Regions from separate parts of the Homo sapiens genome. Here regions 2 and 3 are each linked to region 1. Evidence: promoter capture Hi-C in 16 types of primary human blood cells and fetal thymus (Javierre and others, 2016). All regions are on one chromosome and are shown on one strand. Each heading gives the region's core, a stretch centred on a gene start or on the middle of the fragment in contact. The rest is flanking DNA. Distances are from core to core; before and after follow the strand shown. Region 1 holds the start of XRN2 (5'-3' exoribonuclease 2). Region 2 has its middle 3.8 kb from the start of RALGAPA2. Region 3 overlaps RALGAPA2 (Ral GTPase activating protein catalytic subunit alpha 2).

Region 1 (3,683 bases), core at 1-2,500:
GTTAAAGGTGGAGAAATGGGATGAGAAGGGGTAGAGCAAGAACTGTTGCTTTTTGTTTAACCCACGTGCAAGTAAAGTTCAATAAAGTTCGATTAAAATTTTACAAAGGAAACAAGTATTCAATTTAGCAGTTGCTTTTTGAAAAAAACAAGAAATAGTGGGAATGTCACTAAGACAAGGCTTTTGGTTCCTCCTTGGATAGAAGCCAAGAAAGTTAAAAAAAAAAAAAAAAGCAGAAATAAGTTCACAGTGACAGGCAAGCACTGCCTTCAAAAACTAAGGAGTGAGGTACGCGTGATGTGCCTCTGAACGTTTCCAATCCAGAAATTCTAATTAAGAGCACAAAATCGAATCCGCATGGAATGACGAAAACAATAAAAACAAAACTCAATAATGGCCAAAAATCTACTTACGTATTAACTAACAACAAAAATTGTACTGCTCAAGTACATCCAGTAATCTTGAAATTTTCAACAAGCACCCACCCCGTTCAGTAGTCAGGGCACACAGAGAAGGGTAACTTCTCAGAATTCTATAGCGCTCATCCTGGACCTGACATACTGCTTTCAGCGTCCAATCTAACCAGAACAACAAATGGTCCTGAACACTAGGAGAAAACCTTTCCGGCACAATTGGTAAACAACGAAAAGGTCGCCGCCAGGGATTCCTTTACAAGGTTGTCAAAAAGCTGGCCTCCGAATCCGTGCATCCATAACCCGCTAGCTCAGCTGACCTGGCATGCATTGCTCAACAACAGCCTCTGAACCTCTTCCGAGACCCAAAATGCGCGGTCTGGAGAGGAAACAAAGCAGTGGGCGGGGCCTTCCGGTGCCGGGAAAAAGCGAGTAGGGGAGGAGCGACCCTCCTGCGAGTTCGGAACCCTATAGGCCCTTGCCCCGCCGAGGGTCCTGAATTCCTCGCCCCCGGGGTGCTGAATCCCACAGCCCGCGTCCCATCGCGTGTGGGGCTGCGACTGCTCGCGAGGCTGGCAGCAGGGCGCGAGCTCCGGCAAGGCTCCCCGGGGGCAGGCGGCGGAGCCCATGGGCCGCGGCCTAGACGTGCCGGGGGCCCGGGCTCGAGTGTGGCGGCCGCCTGGCGCCTCCTCACCTTCTCTTCCACGCAGTTGACTATGATGGACGGGTACTTGCGGCTGAGCCAGCGGAAGAACGCCGGGACTCCCATAGCGGCACACGGCTGGAGGCGGCGGCCGACCGGCTGACGAGCGTAACCAAAGAGACGGGAGCAGCGGCAGAGGGCACCAGCACTTCCTCCCACGTGCGCGCTGGAGAACGGAAGTGACGTCACGGCGCCGCCGCCGGGGAAGCTGGGAAGGAGGCTTCGCTGGATGAGGGAGCGGCGGAAAAGGGCCTTGCCGGGCTGTTTGTGGGAGGCGGAGTCCGGCGGCGGACCGGGTGGCGAAGGCTGCAGCTCGCCCTCGGTGGTCCCAGCCCCGGAGCGCGAGGCCGAGCGCGTCTGAGTTGCGGGGGCTCACGGGCGACTGCTCTGCCGGGGCTCCGCCGGGATCTCCCAGCCCCAGCCCTCCGGCTCCCTGGGCACAGAATCGCTGCGCTCTGCATGCCCGGGAGGAGGTCTCCCTTGCCCGTTTGGTCACCTCTTGTTTGGAAGAAAATGTCTTTTTTTGCCTCTATGCTCACCCGTCTCAATCTAGGGTAGAATCGAAGCATCCAAACTTACTCGTTACTTCCATTTCCTGGTTTCTCCTAGTTTTGTGCTGCAGTACGTACCTGGACTATCAAAAGGAGCATTTTAAAGCATTTTACAGTAATAATGGCTGCTTTGCACCAATAATTTGATTGTTATGCAAATAAATAATTATGATAGTTACCGAATGGAATCTAGCCGGTATTTAGCATCCAATACAATCTTCCAGCTACAATTACGGGTATAAAATAGTTGCTAATATGATTTTCCAGCATTTACTGAGCCTTTACAGTGTACCAAGACATTGACTAAGGGATTGTCCTATGTAATCTTCACTTGAACCTTGTGAGGGTACTGTTAGCACCCTCGTGTAAATGATAAGAAAGCCAAGTTACAGAGGAGTTAAGTCACTTATGCACATAGCTTCTGTTTCAGTTCAAGCAAAGGTCATTTTTAATCCATCCTTGTTCTAACACGATACTTTTATCTTTTGTTTTCTGGTGGTCCCAAACGAATTTTTTCCATATGAAAGGAGAGGTCTGGAAGAGGAGGTATATTTGTCCGTTTGCTCAAGCCTGGAAGTCTCCCTGAATCCCCTCTTGGTTTGACACACATCACACACGATGCTAAATGCTCACCTCATGAGGCCTCTGTGAAAGTATTTCGCCGAGTTACCTCACAGGCAGTATTTATTGCCCCCTCCTCTGTGGTCTGATGACTACTTTGTTTAAACTACTAGTGTGGAAATTAGAGAAATAGTCATCCCGTGTTTTACTTAAGGATAGCCAAAACTATTCCAAAGTATTATGTCTATGGTGAAATTCCTCCTTTTACCTGGAAGCAGCCCCTCTGGTTTCCCTGGGAGGTGCTGTTATAGGAACATGTACACCATAGGCAGTTCAGGGATAGACAGCTGGCCAAGTTGAGCCATTTAGAATCCTTAACCAGCATTTTGGCGGGTTGGGAGGGTTTATTGTTTTGTTTTTGTTTTTTCAGACGGAGTCTCAGTCATCCAGGCTGGAGTGCAGTGGCAAGATCCAGGCTCACTGCAACCTCCACCTCCCGGGTTCAAGCGATTCTCCTGCCTCAGCCTCCCGAGTAGCTGGGATTAGAGGCGCCTGCCATGACACCCCGCTGATTTTTGTGTTTTTAGTTGAGACAGGGTTTCACCATGTTGGCCAGGCTGGTCTCGAACTCCTAACCTCAGGTGATCTGCCCACCTCGGCCTTCCAGAGTGCTGGGATTACAGGTGTGAGCCACTGCACCCAGCCTTACCAGCATTTTTGAGCTTTGAACCATAAGAAATTTAAGACTGCATCTTTCCAGTGCGTGAACGCTAAAAGATAAGAATTGGGACTTGTTGCCAGTAGGCAATGAGAGAAGCAGGGTTAATTCCCTGGTTCCAGTTAAATCCCTCTCTTCCTGCAGTTTGATTAAGTCTGTCCTTTGATTCTGTGAGCCAAATTTTTTTTTTTTTTTTTTTTTAAGACAGAGTCTCACTCTGTTGCCAGGCTGGAGTGCAGTGGCACCATCTCGGTTCACTGCAACCTCCACCTCCCAGGTTCAAGCGATTCTCCTGCCTCAGCCTCCCAAGTAGCCGGGACTACCAATGTGCGCCACCACGCCCGGCTAATTTTTGTATTTTTAGTAGAGATGGGGTTTTACCATGTTGGCCAGGATGGTCTCAATCTCTTGACCTTGTGATCCGCCCGCCTTGGCCTCCCAAAGTGCTGGGATTCCAGGTGTGAGCCACCACTCCCAGCCAAAAGTTTCCTTTTGCCCTAAGCTGGCTTGGGCTAAATTCTTATCCCTTACAAAGGAAAGAGTCCAGTAACAAAATTTGGGGAGTGCAAGCTAATTCACCTGGGTGGTGAAATTGGTTTGCATAGAAGTACTAAAATTGGAGTTTTGGCACTCAGAGAAGGAGTGGGTAAAAGAGAGAAGAAACTTGAAAGGCGGCAGGAGGATATGGACTAAGTATTGTGACACTTTCCCTGGCCCAATGTGTCCAGTAAAGCCTG
Region 2 (3,176 bases), core at 362-2,861, 590 kb after region 1:
GGCCGGCGCCTGTAGTCCCAGCTACTTGGGAGGCTGAGGCAGGAGAATGGCATGAACCCAGGAGGAGGAGCTTGCAGTGAGCCGAGATGTGCCACTGCACTCCAGCCTGGGCTACAGAGCAAGACTCCATCTCAAAAAAAAAAAAAAAAGTCTTTTTATAAATATTGTTGGACAACTGCATATCTGTTTTTTTTCTTTTTCTTTTCTTTTTTTTTTTTTTAGATGAAGTCTTGCTCTGTGGCCCAGGCTGGAGTGCCCTGGCGTGTTCTTGGCTCACTGCAACCTCTGACTCTCAGTTCAAGCAATCCAGCCTCAGCCTCCCAAGTAGCTGGGATTACAGGTGCCTGCCACCACACCCAGCTAACTTTTGTATTTTTAGTAGAGACAGGGTTTCACCATGTTGGCCAGGCTGATCTCGAACTCCTGACCTCAAGTGATCCGTCTGCCTCGGCCTCCCAAAGTGCTGGGGTTACAGGTGTGGGCCACTGCGTCCAGCAAATAGAAAAGAATGTATGGCCTTCTTTTTATTCATTCATTTCATTCATGTATGACATTTGTTTGTTTGTTTTTGTTTAGTTTTTTTTTTTTTTTTTTTTGAGATGGAGTCTCGCTTTGTCACCAGACTGAGTGCAGTGGTGCCATCTCGGCTTACTGCAACCTCCAACTCCCTGGTTCAAACGATTCTCCTGCCTCAGTCTCCCCAGTAGCTGAGATTACAGGCATGCATCACCACGCCCAGCTAATTTTTGCATTTGTAGTAAAGACAGGGTTTCACCATCTTGCCCAGGATAGTCTCAGCCACCTGCCTTGGCCTTCCAAAGTGCTGGGATTACAGGCGTGAGCCACCACGCCTGGCCAACACATGCTGTATTTTTAAATTATGAGTTCAAATGGATATTTGAAGTAAAATCTAGTATTACAGAGTTTTCACATTTTCTTTGATGTGATATTTTTGTATCTCCTTTCTCTTACACTGAAAATCTTGGTTCTTAATAATAATTATTAATTCTTTGCAGATCTTTTTGCCCTTAGAATACATCCCTCTAAGGAGGTACAATCAGAATACTGTTTTCAAAAATCACTTGAAATAATTATTTTCTCTATATAGTTATGCTACCAATTACATATACGGTTGGGTTTATTTTTTCATTTATTTTTGATTTTCAGGTTTGTCTTTTTCTATTTTAATTTTTGAATATGTAAAACATTTATATGGTTCAAAAGTGAAAAAAATATAAAAAGGTATACTCAGAGAGGACCCTGTTTCATTCCTTTCCACCTCATCCTCCATCCCACTTAGGTAGGAATTGATGTTAGCTTTTTATTTATCCTTCCAGTGTTTCTTTTTGAAAAAAAAATTTTTAATATTCTGTTCCTTTTATATTTAACAACGTATCTGGAAAATTATGTCAAGTCAGTACACGCGAAATTTTCCCATTATTTTTAAACAGCTGCATAGTACTCCATAGTGCTACACTGTGTGGATGAACTGGATTAAATTAGCCACTTATAGATGTATGTGTATATAAGTACCTTGTTAGACAATCACAGGGTTCTCTCTGGTATCTGGTCATACTCGTTTTCTAGAGTGGCTGCAACAGATTACCACAAATTGCGTGGCTTAAAACAACAGAAATTTATTTTCTCACGGTTCTGGAATCCTGAAGTCTGAAATCAAGGTGTTGGGCTTCCTCTGGAAGACTCCAAGGGAGAATCCTTTCTTGCCTCTTCCAGTTTCTCTTGGCTATAAGGGTCTTTTCGTTTGTGGCTCCATAACCTCAATCTCTACCTTGGTCTTCATGTGCCCTTCTCCTTTGTTTCTATGTTTTCACTTCTTTTGTTTCTTACAAGCACATTTGTCATTGGATTTAGGGTCTACCCAGATAACTGAGGATCTTATTATATTTGCAAAGATCCTTCTGCCAAATAAAGTCTCAGTCACAGTTTTCAGGGATTAGGACATAGACATATCTTTTTGGGGGGAAGGGTGGGCACTGTTCAACCCACTACATTGGCTATTATAAATAGTGGTGAAAGGAATAAACTTCCATGCATGGTTTTATATTTATTTCTCCATAGAGTTATCCTACCAATTACATATATTGTTAGTTTTATTTTTTCCATTTATTTTTTATTTTCAGGCTTGTCTTTTTCTGTTTCAATTTTTGAATATGGAAAACATTTACATGGTTCAAAAATGAAAAAAATATAAAAAGATATACTCAGAGAGGACACTGAGTCCTTTCCACCTCATCCTCTATCCCACTTAGGTAGGCATTAATGTTAAGGTTTTTTTTTAAATCCTTCCAGTGTTATATATTAGAATATCTGCAGGGTAGATTCCTAGAAGTCAAAATTCTGGCTGGGTGTGGTGGTTCACACCTGTAATCCCAGCATTCTGGGAGGCTGAGGCCCGTGGATCACTTGAGGTCAGGCGTTCAAGAGCAGCCTGGCCAACATGGTGAAACTCTGTCTCTACTAAAAATACAAAAATTAGCCAGGCATGGTGGCACATGCCTGTAATTCCAGCTACTCAGGAGGCTGAGGCAGGAGAATCGCTTGAACCTGATAGGCAGAAGTTGCAGTGAGCTGAAATCACACCACTGCACTCCAGCCTGGGGGACAGAGCAAGACTGTCAAAAAAAAAAAAAAACAACAAAACATGGGAGGCCAAAGCCCATGGATCACCTGAGGTCAGATGTTCAAGACCAGCCTGGCCAACATGACAAAACCCCCTCTCCACTAAAAATACAAAAAAATTAGCCAGTCGTGGTTGCGCACGCCTGTAATCCCGGCTAATCGGGAGGCTGAGGCAGGAGAATCGTTTGGACCTGGCGAGATAGCTCCACTGCACTCCAGCCTGGGTGACAGAGCCAGACTTCATCTCAAAAAAAAAAAAAAAAAAAAGAAAAAGAAAAAAGAAAAAAAGAAATTGAAATTCTGGGTCAAAAGGCAAATATTTATTTTTGCCAAATTTCCTTCCATAAGAGTTGTAGCATCTAACATTTCTACCAGCTATGTTTTCTATAGCTCTGCCACCAGACTAGAGTGTGTTATCACACCTTGTCTCTGTAGAGGTTTTTTGTTTGCTTGTTTTTTCTAATTCAAATGATATTTCAGAGTAGTTTTAATTTGCATTGCAAGTTTTAAACTTTTGATCTCATTATTCTTATTTG
Region 3 (3,533 bases), core at 503-3,002, 610 kb after region 1:
TGGCAGCTAGTAACCCTTGAGAGGAGTGTGGCCACTCCCCTAGGGCCTGTACCCATTCCTGTACCAATCGCTGGGTGAGGGAGATGGGGTACTGTGATTGGTCAGCCTGGATCACTTGTCCTGTTCCTAGAGATAGAACCTCATTCTGGCTCCTGTCTTTCCGAGAAAGTAGAGGAAAGGCATTCTGGCACATTACCTCCCACAACAGAACTGCTTATAGCTCTGCCCACGCCCATTTGTACCACATGACATTCATTGACTTTTGTGCTAATAATCATAAAACATTGAGCAAACCTTAGATGACATTCTGTAAATTCTATTTAAGATTATGGGAGTCATATTTGAGGATTATTTTTCTATTTTTTTAATTAAAAAATTTTTTTTGAGATGGAGGTCTCACTCTGTCACCCAGGCTGGAGTGCAGTGGTGTGATCACAGCTCACTGCAGCCTTGCTCTCCCAGGCTCAAGTGAGAGGATTATTTTTCTAGTTTGATGGAAGTAAAGCGTTGCCCTTTTAACAAATGGGATTGACCACTCTTTAAGTCTACATAGCTTAGACTGTTTCCACTGTTTTTAAAGTCATTCCACATATAGTGACTGAGTGTCTGCTATTTGCAGATGAAGCCCTAGCACTTATGGGACTTTCATTCTATTAGGGTGGATGGACAATAAATAACAGGCTGGGTGCAGTGGCTCATGCCTGTAATCCTAGTACTTTGTGAGGCCCAGGCAGGTGGATTGCTTGAGGCCAGGAGTTCAAGACCAACCTGGCCAACACAGTGAGACCCCATCTCTAAAAATCAAGAACAAAAAAACCAAATAATAAATATATGATACAATTTCAGGTAATGATGATAGAAAAATTAAGCTTGATAAGGGTATGTGTATGCTTATTTAGATATTGGGGTGAGGGAAGGCCTCTCTGAAGGGAGGTTTGGACTGAGACCTGGGTTAAGCAAGGGAGCAGCTTTGTGATTATTTTTGGGGAATAGTGTTCTAAGCAGAAGGAACAGTAAGTACCAGGATCTGAGTCATAAATAGACTGGAAATCTCATGGAAGTCAATAGGGGTGGAGGGGTGGAGGATAGAAGGAACTGGGAAAGGAGCGGGGGTGGGAGAGGGGAAATAGGGATAAGATGGTGTGGAACTTTGGCATCCCAGTAAGGACTTGGGATGTTACTCTAAGTAAGATAAGATGGGGCACTCCAGTGAAGCAAAGAGCAGAGGAGTGATCTGAACTGACCTTTAGGTGTAAAGGAATCAATGTGGTTCCCTCATAGAGACTACACTTGCTTGGTTAGCTTGCCAGAGATAGGTTTTCTGACCACAAGCTTTGTAACAAAGCTTTCTTTGGCTTACTTTATAAAAGGTCAGATCTTTGGCCCAAAAACCGACCAGTGACTGGAGGCAGACAAGAGAAGAGGGAAGAGAGAGAAAGAAGTGCCAGAGAAGAGGAATGAGTGGCTGTGGAATCTGTAGCAAGCAAAGGTGTTAAGGAAGATGGGGACAGGCAGCCTGTGTCCCTCCTTACTGCAGCAGCGAGTAGTGATGAGAAGACAGGACGGAAACACTTTGTGGCCAGTGGGACAGGAAAGCTGGAGTACATTGGGCCATGTAATGGGCCCACACAGCGGCCTGAGCTTGTAACAATATGGAGACGGGCTTGCTGTTATCCCCAAATCTACTGACAGGCAGAGAGCAGGCATATTAAAAAGTGCCCTTGATGCTGACAAAAAAAAAATGGAGATCTGTCAGTGGCTGGAGAAGAATGAGACCAGAAAAATGTTGATGGGTCAGTACAACAACAATTTAATATGAATGGTTGCAAAGGCAGCAAACACTGCAGATTGGCTCCACATCAGATATCCACCCAAATTAGGACCCCAGTTGTGCTTTATGTTGGTCTTTTCTCAATGGAAAGACCTGAGGGAATCTTAATCTTTGGCTCAGTGTTAATTGCAAAGATGTAATTCTATGAACCAGTGTTGCTAACTGAACCTTATGTCTTACTCAGAAAGGTGGCTGTGGTGTTTCAAAATATGACAGTATTAGGTTAGCTACATACAGGAGGACAATCATTTGTATTCTTCCAGAGACATCATTTCTGAGCATAAACCAGGTCTTTAGCACTTTTATAGTGTGCTATGAAGAAGCTTCTGTTCTGTCAGTTGACAGTCAGTCAGCGTCAGGTTTAAGCACAACAAGGAAAGGTTGACTCATATGGACTAAGGCTCCCAGGTCTTGGGAATGGGTCTCATTGTGACTGGAAATTTCATCACATCTTTGCATTCAAAAGTGTCAAACATTTGCTCATGCCTACTCAGTGCTAGCTGCTGAATGGCTGGACAGAGAAATGTCTTTCTGCCCAGTTCTATTATTTTTTATCCTTTTCAGTGAATGATGTCTAGAGAAACACAAAAACAGCAAAGCTTCTCCAGATAACTAGGTCATTCTAAGGCATTATGTACCATGTATGTGCTGTTACAGAAGGAGTAATTTAAAAGTTGGATAGAGAAAATTTAAGTCATTTGCTGTTTTTTACAACATTTTAGAATTGGTAAAGATACTCTTTTATATATTGTTTGGGTCTTAAGATTTCTTCAAAGTTGAAAAGTAAGACAGGTTTGGAAAAAAGTATGGCCTGGTGTCATGATTGATGAGTTTTTTGCAGTAAATATTCAGGCTTTGAAAAAAATCCCTTTCTCGAACGCCCTGGAAGTACCCCCCAAAACAGCTTTATAGCTTTTTCTGGTTCTACAATTTTACATACTCATTATAAACATTTGGATAATATGAATATATGAAAAATAATTTAGGTATCAAGGGGTTCTCAAATTCTGCAGTCCCCTGCCAAGCATTACTGAAATCCCGGTGAACGTGCTTTCCAGGCTGGCTCTTGCTTGGGTGCATTCCTTTCTCTCTCTCTTCCCTGCACCTGCCTCGCTTACACACACAAACACGGTTTTACATGAATAGTCATCTGCATGGTCTAACACTGTGTTTTTGACTTAAAGCCTTGGATATTTTTCCACATCAGTAAGTGAAGAATTACATAAGACTTCAATGGCTGTAGTGTGTTCCACTGGACTCCTATAACAAAATTCCCTATCACCCATCCTTCAGGTCATGAGTTTCAGGCCTTCACATGCTGTTAGCAGATTGTGTGCCTGTGAGTGACTGCCCAGTGACCAGAAGGGCCTTCGTTTTCTTGTGTTAGGGACACAGCAGAGATGACAATATTGGAGGCTGCTCACAAGCTGGGATAATATGATGATTTCCTGGAGGTAAAGAGGGTTCCTTGGGGAAAGCCACTTCAGTCTTTACTGAGTTAATTTCACAGAAATGCCACCATTTTGAACTGTCTAGGAGGAAGGTCATTCCACCTGCAAACTGGCTCTGGTGTACTTTTTAAACAAACCAACTTCTGGGTGTACTTTTGTATTTAATAACTATTAAGTTCTGTGACTTGTACCATATCTCTCCTGTGTTCTTTTTGTTTTACAGCAAAATAAAACAAAATAGATTTCCAGGC

What was found. The method cuts DNA at HindIII sites, captures the fragments that hold promoters and counts their contacts. A CHiCAGO score of 5 or more calls a contact.
Region 2: a fragment that was not itself captured here is called in contact with the fragment with the promoter of XRN2 in region 1 in 2 of 17 cell types (activated CD4 T cells and naive CD8 T cells); the score reaches 6.4 in activated CD4 T cells.
Region 3: a contact is called between a fragment that was not itself captured here and the fragment with the promoter of XRN2 in region 1, in 1 of 17 cell types (activated CD4 T cells). The highest score is 7.2, in activated CD4 T cells.

The regions. Positions count from the first base shown.
Region 1 is chr20:21,300,898-21,304,580 of GRCh38, reverse strand. It overlaps XRN2 (5'-3' exoribonuclease 2), which reads right to left and starts at 1,250. Exons shown (of 30, transcript NM_012255.5): 1 at 1,108-1,250. The coding sequence starts at 1,182. RefSeq lists an enhancer at 653-702 and a silencer at 1,423-1,552. The HindIII fragment of the contact is 6,284 bases long and covers 1-3,683 here.
Region 2 is chr20:20,714,902-20,718,077 of GRCh38, reverse strand. No RefSeq gene overlaps it. Among named protein-coding and RNA genes, the nearest start is that of RALGAPA2, 3.8 kb to the right of the region's middle. The HindIII fragment of the contact is 3,801 bases long and covers 1-3,176 here.
Region 3 is chr20:20,694,182-20,697,714 of GRCh38, reverse strand. The region is part of intron 1 of RALGAPA2 (Ral GTPase activating protein catalytic subunit alpha 2); the gene reads left to right. Among named protein-coding and RNA genes, the nearest start is that of RALGAPA2, 17 kb to the left of the region's middle. The HindIII fragment of the contact is 809 bases long and covers 1,348-2,156 here.